Regions from separate parts of the Homo sapiens genome. Here region 2 is linked to region 1. The links are contacts of gene promoters, found by promoter capture Hi-C in blood cells and fetal thymus (Javierre and others, 2016). All regions are on one chromosome and are shown on one strand. Each heading gives the region's core, a stretch centred on a gene start or on the middle of the fragment in contact. The rest is flanking DNA. Distances are from core to core; before and after follow the strand shown.

Region 1 (7,074 bases), core at 1,166-3,665:
TAAATAAAAAATTTAAATATCAGCATGACAAGATTCTAGTACTTTTAGAAAACATAAATTGAAATGTAATTTCAGTGCATGATGCTCATTTTTATAAAACTCACCTTGTCTAGATTTATGATCATATAGTTTGGATAATCTTCCACTAAAGAGACAATCATATGTGATGCACTATGGAAAAAAAGTATATCTTGTTAGTGAAAAACTTTAACTTCCCTAAACTCTTGAATATTTTCCTAAGGTGTTGAGTACTAGGAAAATACTCAAAGATAACTTTAATTTTTTCTAAGATAACAGAAAACATAACTACACTAAATATACACACATGCAAACTTTTTACCAAACTTCTCAACAGTATCTATAAACAAAAGTTTTACATTCCATTTAGACTATGCAGAAGAGAGAATGTACTGGTTCTGGGTATAGGGAAAAAAGTCAGTTTAACCAAACGATGCCATCCATACAGGTACAAGTATCGAGTAAAGTGGAACAATAAATGGGAGCTAGTCAGCACAACTGTACATGCCTATAGCATGCCTTTTCAGGAACTGCAGATATAAGTATGTAAAAATGAAATTACTATGAGTATAGTCAGTTGTCTATATTTAATAGTAACTTCTGCAATTGCTATTTCTTGGTATAAGATTTTGGTAATGTTAAACCAGAATCCTCAGGAGGCTTCTAGACTAAACCCAGGATTCCCAGGCTAATAACAGCTGAAACCATTCTGAGTTGGATATCCACAGTGGGTCCTGGGCTTCAGAGGACCCTAAAGGGGAATCACAGGCATATCTCAGTGAAATGATCTACCAGATTTACCATGTATACTTAAAATGTTGGGCTCCCAGGAGAGGGGAGCCCTTGACCAAATTATGAACTTGAAGTTTGTATTCGGCATTCCTTTCACAGCACTTTCTAAGTCGCACCCTTCCTGGACCCGCACTCTCACACAAGTATCACCCTTTCATGTCCATAGTCCTCTTTCTCATTAAGTGAAACTTGCCAGCCTGATGCTCTCCCCCAAATGACTTGTCGGATTAGAAGGGGTGATTTAATGTGCAAATGGCCATAAACAGGAATCCTCACATTCCCACTTCTTCCACTAGCCACTGAGTTCCTTGAGGGGAGGATAGGAGAGTTTCCTGTTTATTACTCTTGCATTCATCCATTCCACAATTACTAAAGACTTATATAGAATGGGCCAGGCATTCTTCCAGGTGCTGAATGAACAGTAGTCTCTGTCCTTACCGAGTTTGCATTTTAGAGTGGGGATACAAGCAATAAACAAGCAGACACAAATCCGCAATATAATTTCAGGTAGAGGTTAAGTGTGCTAGTTGGGAGAGGGGCTATTTTAGATATGGTGGTCAGGTAAGAACTCTCTGAGGTGCTATCTGAATAAAAACCAGAATTGAGTGGTGCAAACAGCCTAAGGAAAGGGGAAGCAAGTGCAAAGGCCTCAAGACAGAAGTGTGTATCTTGGTGTGTTCCAAGAACTAAGAGGGGAAGCATGGCAGGTACAGAAAAGCAGATCAGGTTGCAAAAGTAGGGCTTGGGCACTTGAGTTTTCTAGATATGGTAGAGTTTGGGCTTTATTCTTAAGTGTGGCAGGAACCACTGAAGTAAAATCCTGCTTCTACCATGATCTGATTGACTTAAGAAACACTGACTTGTATGTGAGCAACAGGCTTTAAAGGAACATGAGTGGACGCAGTTATGGCCAACCAAGAGGCTACAGCAGCAGTCGAGGCAAAAGATGACAGTAAACATGGGCTAGGGTGGAAACGGGAAACTGGTGAGAAGTGGTCGCCGTAAGGATATACTTTGGAAGTAGAGAGGACTTGCTGCTCGAATGTGGGTCTGAGGAAGAAAAGGGTGTCAACAGTGGATTTGTAAAAGTTTGCTGATTACATAGATGTCCTATTATAGTCCTTAAATCGTTTTGGGGGTGCCTATATGTACAGGGCCCATCGTGGGGTGTGGGTGCTCTAGGCTGGAGGTGGGAAGCAGTCGGTGAGCAGCTTAGGGTAACTTGCACGCACTCAAGGAGTGACATGGTGAGCACCTCCGGCCACAGAAGGGCGGAGAGTAACGCAGCTTTGGAAGAGGCGTTTTAAAGAAGTCAGTTTCAAAGGAACCACTTCTTTGCAGGCCAGAGAGAGAAAAGCTGGTCCAGGTCGTGCATTAGGACCCTCCCCATATCAGAATAAGGACCCCTCAAAGCTGGACCCAAATTACCTAGGGCAAGCAGAGCTGCGGGAAAAGGTAGGGGTTTCTGGGGAGCCACTGCTTGGCTAGCGGCGCCATTACCTACATGAAACCAGCACCGCCGGTCACCAGGACCCGCTTCGCAAAGCCGCCGGGAAGACCCCACGGTTCCTCCCAACACGCCGCCGACATCTCCCAGCTCAGCAGTGCCTAGTACCGTAAAGAGTATGGTCTGAAAAGCGCAGGGAAGTTCCGCCGCGACCTTTTGCGACGCGCCTCGCTCGCGGGACACGTTAACAGAGCAGCCAGAGGCAGCTTCCGGAGACTGCTCTGTGGCCAGTTTCTGCCCGCCCACTAGCGGGCTGGGCGGGGCCGCGCTCACCACGCGCAGGCGCTGCTCCTTTCCGCCCTTGCCTGGTCCGCCAGGTGCAATTGGGGTCGCCCGGATGGTAGGGGTATGGAACGTTTTTCCCGGAAATGCCACCACTATGGATCAGATTTATGAATGAGTACCTTTTTTCATTCTTGTACTACAGCCATCTCTAGAGGTTACCTATCAGTTGAGCTGAGAACGGGGAGTTGTTGCAGATGGAGATGGGAGGTTGCAATTTAAAAATGATTTTTTTTTTTAGTGGGGCGGGGACAGGGTCTCCCTCTGTTACCCAGGCTGGAGTGCAGTGGTGCGATCACGGCTCACTGCAGCGTCGACCAATGGGGCTCAAGCAATCCTCCCACCTCAGCCTCCTGAGTAGCTAGGAATACAGTCGTGCGCCACCACGCCCGCCTAATTTTTGGTAGAGATGGGTTTCGCCCTGTTGTCCAGGCTGGTCTCGAACTCCTGGGATCTAGCCAACCTCCCGCCTCAGCCTCCCAAGGTCCTGGGATTACAGGCGTGAGCACCGTGCCTGGCCTGCAAAATGATCTTTTGCTGTTGTTAATATTATTTCAGGCCGGGCGCCGTGGCTTACGCCTGTAATCCCAGGACTTTGGGAGGCCGAGGTGGGCGGATCACCTGAGGTCAGGATTCGAGACCAGCTTGGCCAACATGGTGAAACCCTGTCTCTACTAAAAATACAAAAATTAGCCGGGCGTGGTGGCGGGCGCCTGTAATCCCAGCTACTTGGGAGGCCGAGGCAGGAGAATTGCTTGAACCCGGAAGGCAGAGGTTGCAGTGAGCCGAGACCGCACCATCGCACTCCAGCCTGGGCAACAACAGCAAAACTCCGTCTCAAAAAATAATAATATTATTATTACAGACAGCGCAGAAGGCTTGCAATCATGATAAAGATATTCCCTAGGTCCTACGCTGATGTCTTATTCTATTCTCTCCTTTGCTCACTCCGCCCCAGCCTCCCCACCCTCCTTGCTCTTCATTCAATGTGCCAGGCATGCTACTTCCCCGGGACCTTGATTGTCTTTCCCCAGATGTCTGCCTAGTTTTTACCCTTACTTCCGTTTTCAGCTTGAATGGCATCCTATTGACCACCACAATTAAAATAGCGAGCTCTGCCCAACCCTGCCGAATCATCTTATCCTTCTTTATTTTTCTTCCTAGCACTCAACATTTACATTGATGTCACTGCCCTCTGTTTAGTGTTCCATGAGGTCAGGGGCTTTGTTTTGTTTTCTGCTGTAATCGCATGTCCTTAGAGACTTGGCACAGAATAAATGACCATTAAATATTGTCGAATAGATAAATATCTTTTTTTCCCCACCATAATGTTTGGCAAAGCTGAAAACGAATGGAAACATCCAGTACAGGTGTATATGTGGAAGAATCATACCACAACCTTTTTACAAGGCAAAGTGGTAAAACATATGAAAATTTCAAATGTTCATATTCTATGACCCCCTCAAATTCCATGATGTATAATATAGATAATTGTTCATTGCTGTATTGCTTGCAATAATGAAACACTGGAAATAATCTAAATGTGTATAATGTCTTCTAACTTTTAAAATGCAGTAAACTGCTATATAGCCTTTAAAAAGAATATACCAACATGGAATGAAGACCAAAATATATTGCAGTCGATACGTACAGTTTTTTTCTGACCAGACTCCTCCCCCCACTGTCCTTTATGATCTCCCCAAGTTGACCCAGGCAGGCCACAGAATGAAATCTGGCTGACTCTAGGCCAACTGAAGCCTCTTCTTGGGATTTAGAATTCGACTAAGGTGCTAGTATAGTCTGGTTACTCTACTTGAACTCTGAGGTCCTACAAAGCTGGAACTTTTTGGTGGCCATGTTCTTTCAAAGTGAGGAGCCAGAAAGCCTGTCTTCACAGTGAGAAAAACAAAGTTGATTGAGAAGAAAGAAAAGATAGGAAAGGCCTAACATTCAAGGCCTGTGTTATGATTTCTCTTCAGGACCAGTTTTATTCCTGTCCTTGGTTTACAAATACCACATATATTTGTGGTATTTGTAATACCACATATATTTGTGGTATTTGTGGCTTACTTGAAAGGATTGACCCTAAACTCTTAAAATAAGTTACCTTTAGGGATGAGATATGGGCAGGGAAAGGAGGAAATGGGGAGTTTAATTTTTACTTTATATACTTTTGTTTTTTTGAGACAGTCTCGCTCTGTTGCCCAGCCTGGAGTGCAGTGCCACAATCTTGACTCACTGCAACCTCTGCTTCCCAGGTTCAAGCGATTCTCCCATCTCAGCCTCCAAGTAGCTGGGATTACAGGCGCATGCTACCACACCTGGCTAGTTTTTGTATTTTTAGTAGAGATGAGTTTTCACCATGTTGGCCAGGCTGGTCTTGAACTCCTGACCTCAGGTGATCCACCCACCTCACTTCCCAAAGTGCTGGGATTACAGACGTGAGCCACTGCGCCCAGCCCACTTTATATACTTTTGACTGTGAATTTTTTTCTGAGACACATGGATTACTTGCATAATAAAGAATCCTTGCAGTTTTTTTTTTTTTTTTTTTTTTTTTTTTTGAGACGGAGTCTCGCTCTGTCGCCCAGGCCGGACTGCGGACTGCAGTGGCGCAATCTCGGCTCACTGCAAGCTCCGCTTCCCGGGTTCACGCCATTCTCCTGCCTCAGCCTCCCCAGTAGCTGGGACTACAGGCGCCCGCCACCGCGCCCGGCTAATTTTTTGTATTTTTAGTAGAGACGGGGTTTCACCTTGTTAGCCAGGATGGTCTCGATCTCCTGACCTCATGATCCACCCGCCTTGGCCTCCCAAAGTGCTGGGATTACAGGCGTGAGCCACCGCGCCCGGCCGCAGTTTTTTTTTAAAAAATCCGAAAATATTAATACTTCCAGCATATTCCTGGTCAGCCAGAAATACTGAAAATGCTGTGTATATGGTAGGAGGTGGTTCCTCAATATTTTTTTTTTCTAAATGATGAGGTCTGTTATGAGAACTTCCTTATATGTTATAGAAGCTTGTTGTTAAATGAAAATAATTTATATACATTTATTCATGAAATAATTTTGAGCTCCTACTTTTGTTACCAGTGGAGGGTCTTGACTGCAAGTTGTCCAGTTTCTTGGCATTTTGAACAAAGAATTGGACAAAATGCACAGCAAAGCAAGGCAAGAATGAAGCAACAAAAGAATGAAGCAACGAAAGAACGAAAGCAGGGATTTATTGAAAATGAAAGTACATGGCCGGGCGTGATGGCTCACACCTGTAATCCCAGCACTTTGGGAGGCCAAGGTGGGTGGATCTCTTGAGGTCAGGAGTTCGAGACCAGCCTGGTCGACATAGTGAAACCCCGTCTCTGCTAAAAATCCAAAATTAGCCAGGTGTGGTGGTGTGCACCTGTAATTCCAGCTGGAAGCTGAGGCAGGAGAATCACTTGAACCTGGGAGGCGGAGGTTGCAGTGAGCCGAGATTGTGCCACTGCACTCCAGCCTGAGTGACAGAGTGATACTCTGTCTCAAAAAAAGAAAATGCAACTACACAGCGCAGAAGGGCCTGGACACATAATCATCTTGGGTCCAAATACTCCCTAGAAGTTTCCCATTGGCCACTTGGAGCTCACCTCATATAAATGAAGTGGTGGCCCCCAATAGGTCTGATTCTTGGGGAAAGCAATGAATCAGAGGCTGAAGTGGAGTTACAAAGGTCACACTCCTGTGCAAACATCTGATTGGTTGCAAAAAGCAATGTTACAGAGTTACAAAGTTGCACTTCTATGCAAACGAAGACTCAGCTGGCAATCAGTCTGACTGGGTAGGGACAGCCAATTTCTTATCTGCCTCACAGAAAAGGTGGGGATTTGCAAAGGGCATAGCCTCTGGTCCTTTTGTTACTTAGGGTGGAAAGTTAGGGTTTTCCTTTAATAGTTCTAGAAAGTCGGTGTAAAAACGCCTTAGGTTCCCTCACCCCAGGCCCTATTCTCCTGCCTCACTTTCATTAAGACAGGTATAGCCAGCAAGGTGGCTTACGCCTGTAATCCCAGCACTTTGGGAGGCCAAGGCGGGCAGATCACCTGAGGTCGGGAGTTTGGGACCAGTCTGATCAACATGGAGAAATCCCATCTCTACTAAAAATAAAAAATTAGTCGGGCATGGTGGCGCATGCCTGCAGTCCCAGCTTCTCGGGAGGCTGAGGTGGGATAATCGCTTGAATCCGGGAGGCAGAGGTTGAGGTGAGCCGAGATCGCGCCATTGCACTCCAGTCTGAGCAACAAGAGTGAAACTCCGTCTCAAAAAAAAAAAAAGTGTAGTCACTGACCAGCTGGAGCTGACAATAGAGGCGGAGATTTCAGACACATGAATGGATACTTACAGTACAGTGCGTGAGTGCTCTGGTAGGGAAGTAAGGGATTCTGGTTCCAGGGGCATCTACTACAGACTTAGGGGTTTGAGAAAGGCTTCTTAAAGTGCCTTGGGAAG
Region 2 (7,119 bases), core at 3,451-5,950, 3.2 Mb before region 1:
TCTTTGAGTATTCTGATTAGGACATCTGTAACCCTTTGTGGTCCGTATTTTTGTGCCTTTCTAGTTTTCAGAATTGTACCTTTTTTTGAGGGCAGGGACTATATTTGATCCAGCTCTGCAACCCTAATTCTGTGCTTGGAATAGAGCTTGGCATGTATATAAGTGCTTTGATGTTTCAATGTATCATTGAAGTGATTCAGGGCATACTGAGAGTTGATACAGAAGTCAGCGGGGTTTGCTCTGAATGAACGGTTTAGGTAATCCTTCTTGGATTCTGAGGAAACATTCACTATATTAAATGTGTGAGCAGAGGTGATATTGGGGAGAGCTAATATGATTGTTTTTCCATATTTTCTGCATGTAACATCTCCAAAGTGAGAATAAGGACAAGAGAATGCGAGGAATGTGTTTTGAATTCTGAAGTTTGTAATATATATTACACCTTTTTTCTTAGAGAGGAATATGCTAATTAGTGAAAGCCAAGGCAGTTTAAAAACATATGTTCCTTTGTAGACAAAGTTTCTTGCTAGGCTTGGTGGCTCATGCCTGTAATCCCAGCACTTTGGGAGCCTGAGGTGGGAACATTACTTGAGTTCAGTAGTTCAAGACCAGCCTGGGCAACATAGGGAGACCTCGTCTCTACCAAAAAAAAAAAAAAGTTATCTGGTGTAGTGGTGCAGGCCTGTAGTCCCAGTGACTTGGGAGGCTGAGGGAGAAGGATCACTTGAGCCTGGGAGGTGAAGGCTGCTGTGAGCTGAGATCATGCCACTGCACTCTAGCCTGAGTGACAGAGCAAGACTCTGTCTCAGAAAAAAAGAAAGTTTCTTAAAGTATCATTGTGTCTATTTACATTGATATGGATTTAAGAAAATAAAGCAGGCTGGTAGAATGTGTGTACTGTAGATATTTCTCTGCAGAATATTTAAGCTTTATTCTTCATAAAGAGCAATAGAGATCATTCTATGTTTGATTTCCATGATTAGTGTGCCATGGGCCAGGTAATCAATATTTTGATTTGCATAATACATAACAATGCTCAATAAATATCGGTCAGAGTGAATGCAGTGATTTATATTTAGAAGTGAATAATGAATCCAGATATGGTTTTAATTTTTAAATTGTACTTTTATCAACATAATTATTTCTTTAGCTTGTTCATCCAGTTTTGTTGTATTAACAATAATTCAGTGGCTATTAGACTAGTAGAAAATATAACTTTAATAGTTTAAGCCTGGTTATCTGCTCTCACATTCTTGAAGATCAAATATAAGACATGGTATCATTGTTACATTATCATCAGTCAACCTTCATAGTTGTACTCAAGTGGAATGAATAGGAGTATAAGTATTCATCCCCATTAGTGTACTTCCTAACAAAGTGGTCTACATCTGAGTGTCCTATATGCATTTGTGAGCTTTTCAAGATGCTGCCCCTGGCCTTTCTTTCAAGCACTAATTTAGAAAACATTTACTGAGTTCCTGTTATGCGCTAGATCCTGTGCAGAATCTGGAGCAGCTTAAGATTTTCTTAAGGAAACAAACCTGTAATGGCATGTTTACCTAAATAATGACATATAATTAATCAGTACATAGTAACTGGCACAATAACATGTGATAGGAACCCAGAGGTGGAAGAGAATAGTGTGGAGTTGCATGGCTGGAAAATTCCTTGTGATGAGTAAGCAACTTGAGTGGAGCTTTTAACGAAAGAGAGGTGGAGAGCAAGAAGGAAATATTCCAGGCTTAAGTGATGCTTCAAGTTGAAATGAGCAAGGCACATTTTAGGGAAGATAAGTGGTGGATTTTTCTGCCTCCAGAAGAAACAGAGTTTATGTAGGAAGAAGAGTGAATTTAAATAAAAGTAAAGGGAACTCAATACATTTAAATGTTGAGCTTTCATGAGAATTTTATGAGAATAGCCCAGATCCCAAACCAAGAATCTGATTTTGGATAAGACCCAGGAATCTGCATTCTAATACTCCAAGTGAATATGTTACTGGCATTCCCTGAACTATATTTGAAGAAATACAGAGGTAGATGCTAGACTCTGGTTTGCCACCAATATACATTACACTAATATATACATATGTATATAATATATAGTATATAATATATAGTATATAATAAACTAGAAATAACCAATTAGCACTTTTTAGTATATTTATAATATACTAAATATATTATGTAGCATATATATATTAATATAAAAGCCTGATGCAAATGGACTGACATGGGCCTAGGATGGAGAATGATTTAGACCAGAAAGACAGTGTAGGTGATGACCCCACTCTGGGGCTAGTGCAATCCACTGGTAATTTAAAGAGAAAGCTTGGGGACGTTGGAATGAAGAAGATGAATATGAGAGAAAAGTGGATGACTTGATAAGTCATGTAATTTATATTACGTAGAGGTAATAAAGGAGAAAGAATATGAACATTCTGGTTTAGCACGGATGATTTTATTAACAAAAAGAACAGACCTCAGGCTCTTGTGTTTGTCAATAAGTTTAACAATGGATAAGGGAGAGTGTGAACTGGGGAGAAGATAATAACATCCCTTTGTTAAAAATAGAGTTTGAGATGATGGTAGAATACCCAAATTAAAAAGCAGATGGGGTAGATAAGAGGCCAGACCTAGAGAGAAACGTCTCTGGATATTTAGCACAGATGCTAGAGGTGAAGGCGTAAGCCTTCAGTATTCATTTTCTAGGGCTGCCAAACCCACAAACTTGGGGGCTTAATACAGAATTGTATTCTTTCAAGTTTCCAGAAATATCCATAGGTCTGAAATCAAAATGTCAGCAGGGTTGGTTCCTCCTGGAGGCTCCGAGGGAAGAGCCATCTCATTCCTCTTTTTTAAAAATTTTATTTTAAGTTCTGGGATTACATGTGCATGATGTGCAGATTTGTTACACAGGCAAACGTGTGCCATGGTGGTTTACTGCACCTATCAACCCATCACCTAGTTATCCTCAGCAAACTAACAAAGGAAAGAAAACCAAATACCACATCAGGCTCATTCCTCTCTTAACGTCAGGTGGTTGACAGCAATCCTTGGCATTTTTTTGGGTTGCAGCTGAATCACTCTAATCTTTGCCTCCATCTCATATCTCCTCCTTCTCTGTCTGCGTCTCCTCTTATAAGGACACCAGTCATTGGATTTAAATCTTGGATGATTTCATCTTAAGATCCTTAATTAATAACACCTGCAAAGATCCCAGCTCCAAATAAAGTAACATTCTGATATTCAAAATGCATGGGTGGACATGAATTTTGAGGGGAAACTATTTAACCCAGGACACCTTCCTAGGAAGAATAACTAGAAAAGCAAGGCCTAGGGCATAAGTCTTGGGAAATTTGGAGGCAGGGGAAAGGTAGAAAATAGGCAAAAGAATAGACAAAGAAATGTTGGAGAGCTAGGAGAAGACTGAGGACGGTGAATTTTCAGGAAAGCTGAAGGGGACAGAAATTTTACGAGAGTGTTTAGCAATGTCAGACTCAGCAGATATATGAAAAAAGTTGGCCGTGTGGTTTCGGACTAATCTGATATACAGAGATCAGGAAAGTAGCTAGATCATTTGGAAATATTGGCAGGAAAAGGAAAGTGAGGAAAAACTAGGATGCTATATAGGAAACAGAGCCCAGATGAAATGATACATATTTTCCTAAGATAAGAAGGGCCTAAATACATTATCCAGAAGCAGAAAGATGGCAATGATGTACAGTCTCCTCTGGCATATCCAGAGAGAGTATTGTTCTCTCTTCTCTCAAAATTTGGATCAAGAAGAGAATTCAAAAGTGGTCAGAGCAAAGGGTTTCTCCTTTCTGCTTGATAGCATGAACTGCTTGTACCTTTTCATATGCAAATGTAAAGAATTAAGCCGAATATTAATTAAATTGGAAAGACAATTGTAAAGTAATATTACATCTAGGGAGAGTTAATAAGGGTGGTACATGGTCCTTATTTATAAATAGCAGAGATTAAACATGATAAAAGGGATTCTTACATGGAACAATTAAAGATCAATTATGACAATGGTACACAGCAGCGAAAGCCTCTGGAAAAACTTCCTACTCATTAATCAAAGATAATTATCAATTATAAGGCTTAATTATTAGGAGAGAGTCTACATTTTGCATCTTAAAAAGCTGATGATAATTAGTTTCCAGATCCTGCTCTAAGTGCTCATTATGTTCAGAGAAGAGTGACTCTTTTACCTTTAAAAATGACTTTTAGCTCATGACCTTGAGCAACTTAAAATCTCCTGTACCTACGTTGAGTTGAGATGATGCTCATTTGTTCCATTACTCAAAAAAATAGTTTGATAGGTGCATAACTGCTATACGACATGAAAGAACCATATTACAAATATGGGGAGGGCAAGAGGTTTTACTTTTGAATTGTTATTGAGTTTAGAGGAGAGGGCTTATTACCTTAAATACCTCTAGGATGTAACTAATAGAGCACAAATTAATGGCAGGTATTTTTTTCAAGTGGGGAAGAAGAATAATGTCTAGTTATTGAGTGGTCACATAATCCAAGAATTGTACAAAATACTTCACATATATTATCTCAGTTAACCCTATCAACATTATAACATAGATGTTGTGTTTTCCCCTCATTTTACATAGTAAGTAAAGGAAATATCAGAGTGGTTTTAACAACCACCAAAGTGACACAGATAATGAATACCCATTCTGGAGAATATTTGATAACTAGCATTAAAAGTAATTTTATCTGAAAATATTTAAGATAGTATAATGTCAAAGTTGCAGGAAATTAATTAGGAAAATAATTCTTTATCTCTTGATTGAATAATTCATTTAGTGGTAACATTAACATTTTAAAACATCTACCTCAAATTTTTAATCATAAAAAGTAATGACAAGAAGTGAAACAGACATTAAAGATTTACTGAAAGTCAAATCTAGAAGATGAAGTGATCACAAATAGCTTGAGAAATTACAACCTGGTTTTGAAGATGTTTATTGATACTATTCTATCAGATAGTGAATTTTCCACTTTGAAAGTAATATAATAATTTAGGGATTAAGTGAAGTTAAAAAGTGGACTGCTGCTTAAAAAAGAATCAAAGATTTTAATAAAGATAACATAGGACACATGAGATTATCAACCTTATAGCAGCCAAATTCATTCAATAAAGTTATGCAATGACTACAGAGGGTAGAAGTGGATATGCGCAGGCTCACTTGACCTCAGAAGGCTTATCATCTGGCAGATAAACTCTTGTGGCCCCTTAGTTCTCAGGTTAAACAGCCAGCAACATTAGGTATACAATCTTATAAAGGTTAGAGACTTTTTCCCTAGTTTAATTTCTGGAAAACATTCACCTAAGCAAGATTATGTATTTCATGTAGTTAACAACTGGATTTATTGGTTAATATAATTATTTTTCCTTAAGCTGTTGATATAATTAATGATACAATGAAATTCTGGATGTAAATTTCACTCTATTTGGAAACCAAAAATAGTTGGTGCAAAACCAACATTTGAAAGTGAGAGAAATGTGTAGTATATTCATTTCCATTATGTTGTAATTATACATACAATTTACACATGCAATGTATATTGCAACTTTGAGGGACACGGTTTTAACATTCTTACATTATAGACTAGAAGAAAATTATTTGAAGACATTTGGCTTCATAAAATCATTGAGTGTTGCTGGTTTCTTTTCCTAGTCTTCTTTCTAATACTGTAGATTCTCTTTTTGAAAGCAACTATTATTTTTATTTCTCCATAAGTTCTCTGAAAGAAATGAAATGTCTTTCATTAGAAATTGCAAATATAAAACATGTAAAATTAAAGATAGTACAAAATACTTTTGAAATTTTCACACAGTAACAGTATTTATTTAAGGCTTTTTGTGAAATAGTTAACATTGTCTTTGCCTTGAAGCACACTCACTATGAGATAATGACATAAGTACATCTAAAATATTTAAAAATCATTGATAAACATGTACTGATGATTATGAGGATTTTCAAACTGAAAATATAGATTAGTGGTATACAGACACACATGTGTGTGTATATATATACACATTAGTGGTATACTGACACGTGTGTGTGTGTGTGTGTGTGATTTTTGAAAATGTTTGCTGATCAAAGATTCCCACTGACTGTCATGTTAATTTCAGTTTGGTGTCTGGTTTTGAGTATTTTATGTAATATTTTATTTGCTGTGTAGTCTCTCCTTTAGGCAGCCTTGCCTTCTCCTCTCCTCTCCTCGCCTCGCCTTACCTCGCCTCACCTCTCCTCTCTTCTTTTTTCGTTTCTTTTGAGACAGGGTCTCACGCTGTTACCCAGGCTGGAATGCAGTGGTGCGAACATGGCTCACTGCAGCCTCAACCTGCTGGGCTCAAGTGATCCTCCTACTTTAGCCTCCCAAGCTGCTGGGGCTTACAGGCATGTGCCATTATGCCTGGCCATTTTTTTGGAATTTTTGTAGAGACAGAGTTTCCCTATGTTGCCCAGGCTGGTCTCAAACTCCTGGGCTCAAGTGATCCTCCTGCCTTAGCCTCCCAAAGTGCTGAGATTACGGGCGAGAGCTACTGTGCCCGGTGGTGATTTTTTTTTTTTTTAACAGAACCATTACTATCTTCACTAGAGGAGATTTCAGGGGAGTATCACTCAATTTTCTCCTGGTTACTTGGTGGCAGAAATTCATTACTGGGGCAGCTCGGGCTGACATCCAACTTGGTTCTCTTTATTGTGCAACCAACGGCTTAGAGCCTACATCGGAGGGAGAGAGAAGGTAGGGCAAGACAAAAGTCAGCACTTTTTTGGAAATAATGAAGTGGAAGTTATTTGTATTAAGGATATTCTTTCTCTGACAACCTCCTTTTCACCCAGTTGATGAAAGAGGGATCCCCCTTTGTAAATTATACGAGATGATCAAACACACAAGACTGGACAGATGAGATTTACAGCAGTTTGTTAGTCACACATACTCATAGCCCAGGGGAGGAGGCTACCACATGCCATGCAGGGCCATACAGGGGAGGAGGGGCTTCATTTGGGAGCAGAGTGAACCTGCAGGAGTTGTGGGAGGCAAGCTTTGTAGTAACAAGAAGATGGTGTGTTGTGGGGAGGACCCC

Evidence for each region. The method cuts DNA at HindIII sites, captures the fragments that hold promoters and counts their contacts. A CHiCAGO score of 5 or more calls a contact.
Region 2: a contact is called between a fragment that was not itself captured here and the fragment with the promoter of TGDS in region 1, in 2 of 17 cell types (naive B cells and total B cells). The highest score is 7.3, in naive B cells.

What each region holds. Positions count from the first base shown.
Region 1 is chr13:94,593,737-94,600,810 of GRCh38, forward strand. TGDS (TDP-glucose 4,6-dehydratase) reads right to left here and starts at 2,416. Exons shown (of 12, transcript NM_014305.4): 1 at 2,315-2,416; 2 at 105-171. The coding sequence starts at 2,400. RefSeq lists an enhancer at 2,280-2,589. The HindIII fragment of the contact is 5,991 bases long and covers 1-5,613 here.
Region 2 is chr13:91,387,730-91,394,848 of GRCh38, forward strand. No RefSeq gene overlaps it. Among named protein-coding and RNA genes, the nearest start is that of GPC5, 7.3 kb to the right of the region's middle. The HindIII fragment of the contact is 4,750 bases long and covers 2,326-7,075 here.